Linked DNA regions of Homo sapiens: region 2 is linked to region 1. The links are contacts of gene promoters, found by promoter capture Hi-C in human tissues and cell types (Jung and others, 2019). All regions are on one chromosome and are shown on one strand. Each heading gives the region's core, a stretch centred on a gene start or on the middle of the fragment in contact. The rest is flanking DNA. Distances are from core to core; before and after follow the strand shown.

The links. The method cuts DNA at HindIII sites, captures the fragments that hold promoters and counts their contacts. A contact is called where the count stands out against the background at its distance.
Region 2: a contact is called between a fragment that was not itself captured here and the fragment with the promoter of KIF21A in region 1, in 1 of the 25 tissues and cell types used here (lymphoblastoid cells).

The regions. Positions count from the first base shown.
Region 1 is chr12:39,440,068-39,445,524 of GRCh38, reverse strand. It overlaps KIF21A (kinesin family member 21A), which reads left to right and starts at 2,405. Exons shown (of 38, transcript NM_001173464.2): 1 at 2,405-2,598. The coding sequence starts at 2,555. RefSeq lists enhancers at 1,735-1,794, 2,076-2,576, 3,395-3,464 and a silencer at 1,875-2,774. The HindIII fragment of the contact is 12,215 bases long and covers 1-5,457 here.
Region 2 is chr12:38,319,740-38,325,196 of GRCh38, reverse strand. It overlaps ALG10B (ALG10 alpha-1,2-glucosyltransferase B), which reads right to left. Exons shown (of 3, transcript NM_001013620.4): 3 at 1-5,036. The coding sequence ends at 3,984. Among named protein-coding and RNA genes, the nearest start is that of ALG10B, 5.7 kb to the right of the region's middle. The HindIII fragment of the contact is 4,339 bases long and covers 196-4,534 here.

The sequences.
Region 1 (5,457 bases), core at 1,156-3,655:
CTTTATCATAGTATTCATCTTGCTCTGCTCTTTTGAGCTACCTGCCTGGCTCCTGTAGGCATTTGTGTTTGTGACTCCCCTTACTGAGACATATATGTATACTATTGTTATTTAAAATGAGAACTTTTTTTGGCCAGGTGAGGTAGCTCATGCCTGTAATCCCAGCACTTTGGGAGGCTGAGGTGGGCGGATCACTTGAGGTCAGGAGTTTGAGACCAGCCTGGTAAACATGGTGAAATCCCATCTCTACTAAAAATACAAAAATTACCTGGATGTGTTGGCACATGCCTGAAATCCCAGCTACTCCGGAGGCTGAGGCACGAGAATCCCTTGAACCCCGGAGGAGGATGTCGATGTCGCAGTGAGCTGAGATCACACCATTGCATTCCAGCCTGGATGACAGAGCGAGACACTGTCTCAAAAAATAAAATAGGCTGGGTGTGGTGGCTCATGCCTGTAATCCCAGCACTTTGGGAGGCCGAGGCGGGTGGATCACAAGGTCAGGAGTTCAAGACCAGCCTGGCCAATACGGTGAAACTCTGTCTCTACTAAAAATACAAAAATTAGCTGGGCATGGTGGCACACGCCTGTAGTCCCAGCTACTCAGGAGGCTGAGGCAGAAGAATCGCTTGAACCCGGGAGGCAGAGGTTACAGTGAGCCGAGATCACGCCACTGCACTCCAGCCTGGTGACAGAGCAAGACTTTGTCTCAAAATAAAATAAAATAAAAAAGAACTTTTTTTAAAAAGAGGGTCTTAATTATACAAATTTCTCTTTAGTTTTCTTGTTAAATGTGCTGGGCCATTCTTGCTTTCCTTGCAGCTTTCATCAACAAAAGAAGCAAGGTGGCCAGCCCAGATCCACCCAGATATGGGCTTGCCAGGGCAGGGTGAAATGCAGCTCTGATTTGTTGATGGATAAATTTTGAGGCTAGGAAAGGCCCTCCAAAGAGTAGCCAGAGGAGAGCTTTCCCACCAATTTGATCTATAGAAGGATACTCAGCATCTCTGCCCTCTTTACCTCCCAGTTACATGTCTGTTAAGATTTAGGGGTAGTGAGATTAAGGGACAGAATAAATTTAAAACTATCTATAATTATATACCCCATCGGCCTTCCCATGGGTTTAAATCATCAAACACTTCTTGTTTTTCCCATAGTGTTGCAGCCTTCTCTGAGCCACACTGCTGTATCACTGCTGAACAAGATGATTAGGTATGTGATTGTAGATTGCAGGCATTTGAGGTAGTGCCTTTATTTGGATAGTGCCATTTAATTTGTGATACTATTTCGTATGAAGCCACATGTTTGTTTATAGAGATGTATGGAGCAGTCCACAAAAGATACTCTGTGGCAAAGCTAATAAAGGCTGTTTCCACAGAGCTATCTGAAGGCATGTGGAAGCACAATAGTGACAAACAGAAACCACAATGGGTCAATGTTGAGAGAATCCTGGGATTGGGAGGTGCTTTTTAAAGGCCAGAAGGGAAAGAAAATCAGTTTGGAAGGATTTACTACACAGCAGGTCTTGGTGGATATATTCAGTTCTGGGAACACTTGGCAGTACCAGGGTGCAGTTCATTTACCAGTGTACAAATGATTGAACAGAAAAGCATTCAGGAGTCTCGAATAAATCATTTCCATATCCCACCCGAGCTGGTAAACGGGCGATGAACTGTAGAACAGCCCAGCTGTCCAGAGACAGTGGACAAACCTGGGAGTCCGTTTAGCATGAATGACTGACTCCGGGGAGGGAGGAGGGAGGGCGTTCAGCTGGGGGCTAGGGAAGGGGGTCAAAGTCCAAGCTGCAGAGAGGACAATAAGGCTATGCGTGGGACACAAAGCCGAACCGCAGCAGCAGCTGCCTGGCTCCCGGCGCGCCGCTGAATCAAGCTTCGATTTGAGAAGGGACCTGGCAGCAGCGCGTGCACTAGCTGCTTCCTTCTCCCAGAAGAGCCTGGAAGGGCGCACAGGCTGGTCGCCCTCGGGCGAGGGCAGCCGGCGGCAGGCATCCCTCCCCCTCGCCTCCCTGCCCAGCAGCGCCAGGCAGTGTCCCGACGAGGGCAGGGCGGGGCGCAGGCTGGGGGAGGGCGAGGTGGGGCTGAGCCGCGCGGCGGCGGCTGACGCAGTGCGGGGCGAGGAGCCCGGAGCGCCCTGGCGGGCGTGGAGTCCCCAGCCTGGCCGCTGGGAGGCCGCGTCCCCACCGGAGGGGGCAGGGCGCACTCACCCGGCCGCCCTGAGGCCGCTGGCGGCCTGTTGGCTTCTCCACAGGCGCGCTCGCCGTTCAAGCGCGCTTTGTCCCCGCCCCAGATCCTGGGGGGTGAGCGGTGGAGAAGGGGCGGGCGCCCGCGAGCCGTGAATCACCTCCTCCTCTTGCTGCCTCAGCGCCGCCGCCACCTTTCCATTCAGTCGCCCAACATGGCTGGAGCGCGGCGGAGGTGAGCCGGCCGCCCGCCCGCAGACGCCCCAGCCTACTGCGCCCGAGTCCCGCGGCCCCAGTGGCGCCTCAGCTCTGCGGTGCCGAGGCCCAACGGCTCGATCGCTGCCCGCCGCCAGCATGTTGGGCGCCCCGGACGAGAGCTCCGTGCGGGTGGCTGTCAGGTGAGGACAGTCTGCCGGCGGCGGGCGGCGGGCGGCGGGTTGAGGGCGCGGCAAGGACCTGGCTGTGGCGCGGAGCACCGGCTACCGGGGTGGAGCGACCTGAGGGGCGTCCCGGCCGGGTTCTGCGGCTGAGGAAACTGAGGCAGTGAGTCCCCGCTGGCCTGGCACGCGCGGCCGGGTGCTGGCAGGGCGACTGCGCCGCCCTCACGCCGTCTGTGTTTGCAGGTGGCTGGCGGCTGCGCGGCGCCGGGTCCCTGGGGGGCGTCTTGACTTCTCTGGGGGAAAAGCCCTCGTCACTCCCCTCCGTCCCCTCGCGGGATCAGTCACCTCAGGTCTGGCCGCCTTGGGCTATCGCCTGTCCGGGAGGAGCTGCCTGTGCGCGGGGCTGTGGTGTTCTTTTTTATTAGTTCTAGAATGTCTGTCATACGTGTCCATGCAGCTCCGGCCTTCCCAGGCAGGAGACAAAGCATCTGACTATCAGCGCCGGCGACCGCAGGGCCCGCCGCGCGCCCACTCGGGTTCTGATGTCTGTGCAAATGAGACATCTTTTTCAGCATCACGGGGATCTAGACATGCCCCCGCGTGTGGGTAGAGGAGACAGATCTAGCCTCTTGGGTGTTGGAATGGGAGTGGAATTTAAGGTAAAATCCACTGGGGAGAGGTCTACAGAAGGAGGAAAACTCTTTAGCCAGAGGAAGGGTGAAATGGGTGACTGTGTGAAACATACTGACATTAGGCAGGGTGGATACAATGTAATCGTAACGTTACCCAGGCCAGGGTGTGAGTCTGGAAATACTAGGTACATCCTAGTATTGAAATTATATTTCGGCCAATGACAGGCACGAGTATTCGATGTAATTTCGGCTGTTTTGATACTTATCAAGAAGGAAAGCTCTGATAGTTGCTCATGGAAAATTGCAACATCATCACACTGTGTGAAAAATTAATGAAGCATTCATCCTAGAGTAAGTGCGTGGCTTTCACAGCTCTGAGAGTCTACTGTTAATTCACTTCTCCTTATTTATGCTTTAAGGATTATAAAAATAATCTACACTCCAAGGAATTAGGAACTATTAACAATCTCCCAGTCTTGTAGTCTTTCCAGAAAATTATTCTAAAAATTCTCCCCTCTAAACATTTCTATAGTTACTATTTTAGTGACACATCTTGGGTCAGGCATAGTAATGGCTGTTTCGTATACTTTGTATCTTTAATTAACTTAAATAATAAAATGAGTTTTTAAGTGTTTTTTTTTTTTTTTTTTTTACCACCCAGGGAGGTGACAGTTTTATGACTGGTTAGAATCACCTGTTATAAGGCTTTTGAAGTTTTAATTAGGCCTTCTTCGTTATTCTAGGGCTACTTATCCAATTGTTAGATTAGTCTGTTTCTCCTATTCACTGCTACTACCTCTCTTTTGGCCCTTTAATACCAGTTAATGACTGCACCAGGGTGGAGAAAGGGGAAGGAAAAAGACAGAAAACCCAATAAGAGGCAATTTTGTTAGGAGATCTGATCAAGGAAAGTGAAGAAGGTGCATAAAATATTACTGAAAACAGACAATTTGTCTGTTTTTAGACGTTTGAGATTTTTATATGTGAATTCTCTAGACTATCACAAGGCAGTTTGTTGACCATTCTGTTAAATCCGATGCTTCTTTGCCTGTAGAGCCATGGATGACCCTAAAGTGATGCTGACTGATAAATAACTTGTATTTTGTTTTGGTGTGTATGTTAGGACTTTTTAGGTGAATGAATGTGGGTTTGATTTTTGGGGAAAGGCTTTATAAAAACTTCAACATAACTTAGTAAGCCATATTGTAAAGATTCAATTTGTTGAATTCAGGATTCCTTCCTTCCTTCCTTCTTTCCTTTCTCTTTCTCTCTTCTTTCCTTTCTTCTTTCTTTTTTTTGAGATAGGGTTTTGCTGTGTCACCCAGGCTAGAGTGTCGTGGTGCCATCATAGCTCACTGCAGCCTCAACCTCATGGGCTCAAGCAATCCTCTAATCTCAGCCTGCTGAGTAGCTGAGATCACAGGCATGTGCCACACTGCTTGGCTAATTTTTATACATTTTTGTAGATATGGGGCCTCCCTATGTTTCCCAGAGTGGTCTTGTACTCCTGGGCTCAAGCCGTCCCTCCCAAATTGCTGGGATTACAGGCATTAGCCACTGCGCCTGGATAAATCGGGGATTTCTTTCATTAAATACATTGTTCTCTGAACAGAGCTACCTTGTAAACTTACTTTATATAGGATAAAAATAGCTTATACTCATATAGCACTTTAGTATTTATAAAGTGTTTGGACTTATATTGTTCATTTATAACCATTATTTATTGAAGATATATACCCGTCTCTGTTATCCTGATTTCTGGGCTAAAAGTAGTGATAATTGTTTGACTTATACTGTGTGCCGGGATTAGTGCTGTGTTAAGATGTTTTATCTCATGTAAAGTCTTATTTATTCCTCATAACAATCTGTGACTTAGGTCCTGTTATTATGGCCATTTACAGATGAGGCACAGAAAGATTAAGTAAACCATCCAAAGTTAAATTGGTAACAAATGAGAGAGCCAGGGTTCCAACCCAGATAGCTTGACTCAGTAGCCCAAGTTCTTAACCATTAACCCTGCGGAAGTGAGAGGCAAGAACATGGCTTTGCAAAGTTTCACTTAGCTTTGGGTCAGTTGCCTGTTCTTGATTTTGTATTAGTTCATTTACAAATGAGTGGCTTTCACAGGTTATTCATATTTTGATATTGCTAGAAAAGATAGAACTAAGACAGGACCTGAACTTACTAAAATATTTCCTCAAATTATTTAATCTTTCCAGCTTCCTGTTACCCTACCCTTCAGTTT
Region 2 (5,457 bases), core at 1,116-3,615, 1.1 Mb after region 1:
GTTTAAACTGAGAGATGCTATCTTTCCAAATCATTTAAATACATAGACGCAGTTCAAAAGATTCCTGACTATCCATTAATGGAAAACATAAACGTTAACAAAATTCACAGCATACCTGAATCTTACTCATGCTACCTAAAGATAACATATCTCTAGAATTTCACAGAAGATAGAATCAGTTCAAAATGATGTATTACTGAACCTATAATGATTTATGGACTAGATATTTTTATGACACTTTTCAAAATAGACATACTCACAGACTTTAGTAATGGTAACTGTAGGGCTCCAGATGCCCTCGAGCAGGGCAATATTTTTTTCATAATCACCTAATTTTAATCAATTCAGCTAAGTCTAATGTTTAAAAATTCATGAAAAAATATCTATCTACTCAATAACTTTTGAAAACACAAATATAACTAAGAATGTTTCTAAAAGCAAGGATCTAAACACCTAAGAATGGTCTTCTCAGTTGTTTCAAGTGAATGACTTTGAGTTTAGTATCATTTCTTGAACGACTAAAGGCAAAATGATCTGTTGTGCCAAGTTCTTACATAATCATTTTATCTGTTATCTATTTTGGAAAATTCACCAGCAAATGGCCATCTTTGAACTGCCTAGAAAATTTAACGAAGACATTTATCTTAAATTCGAAAGTATTGATAAGCATTCCTGTTTTAAAATAATAAATAGTTGAAAATAGCACCTTTTAATACATGGCATTCTTTTCTTAAAATGCCAAGTACTATATTTTATGTATTTTATAAAAAATGTGGAAGATTAACCTGTTTCTCTCTGAATGTAGATTTTCACCAAAACATCTCTTAAACAGCAGGGACTCAACACTTAAAAATGAACTAGAAGAGCTGGGCACAGTGGCTCACGCCTGTAATCCCAGCACTTTGGGAGGCGAGGCAGGTGGATTACCTGAGGTCAGGAGTTCGAGACCAGCCTGGCTAACACGGTGAAACCCCGGCTCTACTAAAAATAGAAAAAATTAGCCAGGCTTGGTGGTGGGCGCCTATAATCTCAGCTACTCGGGAGGCTGAGGCAGGAGAACTGCTTGAACCCAGGAGGTGGAGGTTTCAGTGAGCCAAGATCGCGCCATTGCATTCCAGCCTGGGGGACAAGAGCGAGACTTCTCCTCAAAGACAAAAACAAACAAAAAAAGATATAGAACAGTGATCCCTCCAAAGAGCAGTCTTCTTTAATTACAGGGTAGAATATTTTCCTCAATTTTGCCAGACTAGATCAGAGTGGAAGCTTCTCCTCTCAGAAGTATTCCTAAATACAAAATCCTTGCATTAATATTATCAGACAAAAAGTTACTTTCCCTAAATTACACATTCTTTTTTCAATTTTGACTTCCCAGATTTAGTTCTCCACTATAGTAAATTAATGACAAAAGTATAATTTCTTTGAGTGTCCTCTCTCATCTAATTTTTAAGAAGTCTGGGTAAAACACGTTTTTCTACAATCACTGTTATAACTAATGCCGATCTATTTTCTGAGTACTAGAGTACAACCAAAAAATGGCCTGCATTTATTACTCAAATTATACTTGTAATTTTCACCTGCACACAATTTTATATTTGTAAATGTAGACTCATCACTTAAAACTCAGAGAAGCAAAATTTGACATTGAGGGGAAAGTAATTTGTTCACTTATAGCTACTTTTAAAGTTTAGAAACATAAAATTATGTTAAAAGATGAGTTCTATTCACAATTCTAAGTTTACATGTCAAAGTTAACATGCCCAAATAATACTTTCCTGTAATGGAATGACAACCCAAAAAATACACTCAAAATAATAAACACAAAATTCAAAAAGTAACACAAAATAATCCTACCCCAGCAGTTGTTCCCTAATCTACAAAGTCAGACCAAAGGATTTCTCAACTTTCTTTCAATTCTGACTTTTTTTAATAGATAATGGAATCAAACACTAGTCACCTTTAGCTTTATATTACCTAAGAAGTCACTTATTTTTTAACCTCTCAGTAAAGATACTGAGAGTTATTTAAAAGGTATCAGCTAAGATATTATCTCCTGATCCAACAATCCCACTTCTGGCTATTTATCCAGAAGATTTGAAATCCGTATGTCAAAGAGAAGTCTGCACTCTATGTTCATTGCAGACAAGTCACAATAACCAAGTGATTCGATCAACCTAAGTGTCCATCCATGGATGAATGGATAAAGAAAATGTGGCATATATATACAAAAAAATACTATTCAGCCTTTAAAAAGGAAGAAATTGTGTCATTTGCAACAATATGGATGATCGTGGAGGACATTATGGTAAGTGAAATAAGCCAAGCACAGAAAGACAAATACCACATGATCTCACTTATTTGTGTAATCTAAAACAATTAAACTCACAGAAGTAGAGAGAAGAATGATGGTTGCTAGAGGCCGGGGATGTGGGAATAGGGAGATGACAATCAAAAGATACAAAGCCTCAATTAGATAGAAGGAATATGTTTGACTTTTTTTAGATCTATTACACAACATGGTGAATACAGCTAATAATTAAGCACTGTATGTACATTTCAATACTGTTGAGAGTACATTTCAAATGTTTTCATCACAAAATATGTCAAATATTTGAGGTGATGGATAGATTAGCTTTATTTAATCATCCCACATTATATTCAAAAATCATAATGCCACTTCGTACCTCATAAGTATATACAACTATAATTTGATATATAATAAAAAATTTTTAAAGGTAGTCTCCTAACAATCATATGAGGATTATCCTAAAATGTCCTTTAGTAACTGTCATGGACTGAAAAGTATCCCATGAAGAGACAATGTCTACTCAGAACATGTGAATACAAACTTACTTGGAACATGGGTCTTTGTAAACATAATTAAGGGTCTCCAGACACAATCACCCTAGATCAGGGTGGGCCCTACATTCAAAGACACTGTCCTTAAAAGGTAATGAAAAGACAGAGGGAAAGGCCGTGTGAACGCAGAGGCAGAGACTGGAGTGAAGATTGCTGTCTGCAATACTTAGACAAGATATGCCCATAAGCCAAAGAACTCCAAGAATTGCAGACAGCCACAAGATATTAGGAAACAGACATAGAATGGATTCTTCCTTAGAGCCTCCAGAAGGAACCAACTCTGCTGACACTTTGATTTTAGACTTCTGGCCTCCAGACTGTGAGGAAAATTGTTGTAAGCACCCAAGTTTGTGGTCATTTGTTATGGCAGCCCTGGGAAGCTAATACAATATGTATTTCATAAAGGAAATCCCCCTTTTAAAGGATTATAATCAACACAATTTGTCTTTGGCCATCATACATTTCATATTAGGAATTAGTGAAAGAGCTTCATCATTTCTGGATTGTAAACAATAACCAACAATTTGATGCCTAGACAGACATATATGAGTCTCTACTTTATCATTTACTATCTATGCATTTCTATTTTGACTTAGAATTAAAATTATATTTACTGAAATGTTAAGGAACTTTTCAGTCAAGAATATCACCTGACCATTTGTAAATATTTGCTAACACATTGTTATTAGGTTGGTACAAAAGTAATTGTGGTTTTGCCATTACTTTCAATGGCAAAAACCACAATTACTTTTGCACTAACCTAATAGTTCTCTCTGAAGAGAATAAATTAGTTCTAGTAATATGAAGCATACCCAGTTTTAATAAACTTATACATACAAAACATTCCCAAGCTTTGTGAGGGGCCAACATTACGAGAGCGATATGAGATATCTGAAAACAATTTTATTTTCCCATTATTCAGGCTTTTGAAGCAGGTCTTAAGCTTTCCCAGTTCTTTGCCACTTAATTTCTTACATATGTTTAAAATATATATTAAAAAAACTAATGTAATTTGAGGACCACCACTGCACCTAAAAGAAATTCCATGTTTTCCACCTATTCAGTTGTTCTTTGTAGAAATGGTCTAATTATTAAGTCCATTTTTACAGTTCAAAATATCACTGATATTACCACATAAACCTTTGAATGTCCTGACTATTTGGCCACTGAAAAGTCTTGTTCAGAAAGATGTAAAAAGTTATGAAATTAACAATTGCATAGCAACTCAGTTCACAAACAAGTCTGGATGTGGGAGGCAGAGTTATGTTAAGCCTATAAATGACATAAGGTAAAATGAAGTAACGAAATTCCAGCAGTTTCTGAGGAACTATAACAATGAACAAGCATATGAAAAACATTAAATTCCAAAAAATTGGCTTTGATTTCAATGAGTCAGCTATACTCCAACCAGCAAATATATAGGCTGGAACTAACAAATATTTCAGAATTGCATATCTTTGAAAAACTCTTTTCCACACATAGAAAGTATAATGTCTATTGTCTGCTAGCAAGTATTTATGAGCATAAGTGAATTTCCAAACTAAAAACACAGAGACTAAGGTAACCACCAAAAACAGAATTCCATGTTTCCAAACTAAGGAAAGAAAAGTCTTAATTTTGCTAGGAGACAGGAGATGAGGAAAAGAAAAAAAGAGAGTAAATGAAAAAAAGTAGAATAGTTGAGGAAAATGAAGACAGGCTTCATGACTACTCCGATCGCCAATAACAATTCCACCATTAACTACTACAAAAGCACAAAACAGAAATCCCAGAAGGATGTAGGGCCAAGTCAAACAGAAAAGCATACTCAAGTTTTTAAAGGACATGGAATAAGCCAAAAGAAACTGAAGAATTTTTCTGAATTCTGCAAATGGTCCTTTAATAGGTGGAAGTCTGTCTTCCTTCTTTTGTAGCTCAGTTTTCCAAGCCTCAGTTAACTTTTGTGCAATGACATTCCCTGCACAGAAGACAGCCCAGATGATATTTGTTTGCCGAAACATGAAGCCACAAAATCCAAGGAAGGCTGAAGTTTTATGATTTCCATAAAGACACATCAAATATGCAAAAAGAGTAAAAAACATAGATCCTGCTTCTGTATAATAAAGGAAGTTAAAAAAATAAAGTGTTGGAAATACTGCTAGTGTTAATGTTGACAAGACTCTCTGGATACTTGAGGCAGCCTTGGAGGAAGAAAAAACACAGATACAATTATTTTAATGATAAATGCTATTTCTGCTTACCTAATGAAGAGATTTATTTAAAACTACTCAACTACTCAAACCTTATTTAAATAAAATTAATCAATATTAATCTTATCTCTGGCTTTGCAAAAACACAATAAACATTTATAAGAACACTTCCTGGTACTTTTTATTTATACCTATCAGTTTGGAGACCGTGTGTATGCCAAAGCTTCTATAGCTTAACACAATTTGAATCAGGCTATGATTAGTTAAGGAGTTACTGAGTGCAAGATACCGACTAAGTTCTGTGGGGACTATGGAGATAAATAGGACACAATGCTGGCTCCATTTCCCTGAGCTTATGTTTTAGTGCCTTCAATAAGGATTCACTTAGCCATAATCACCACTTTCCTTTAAG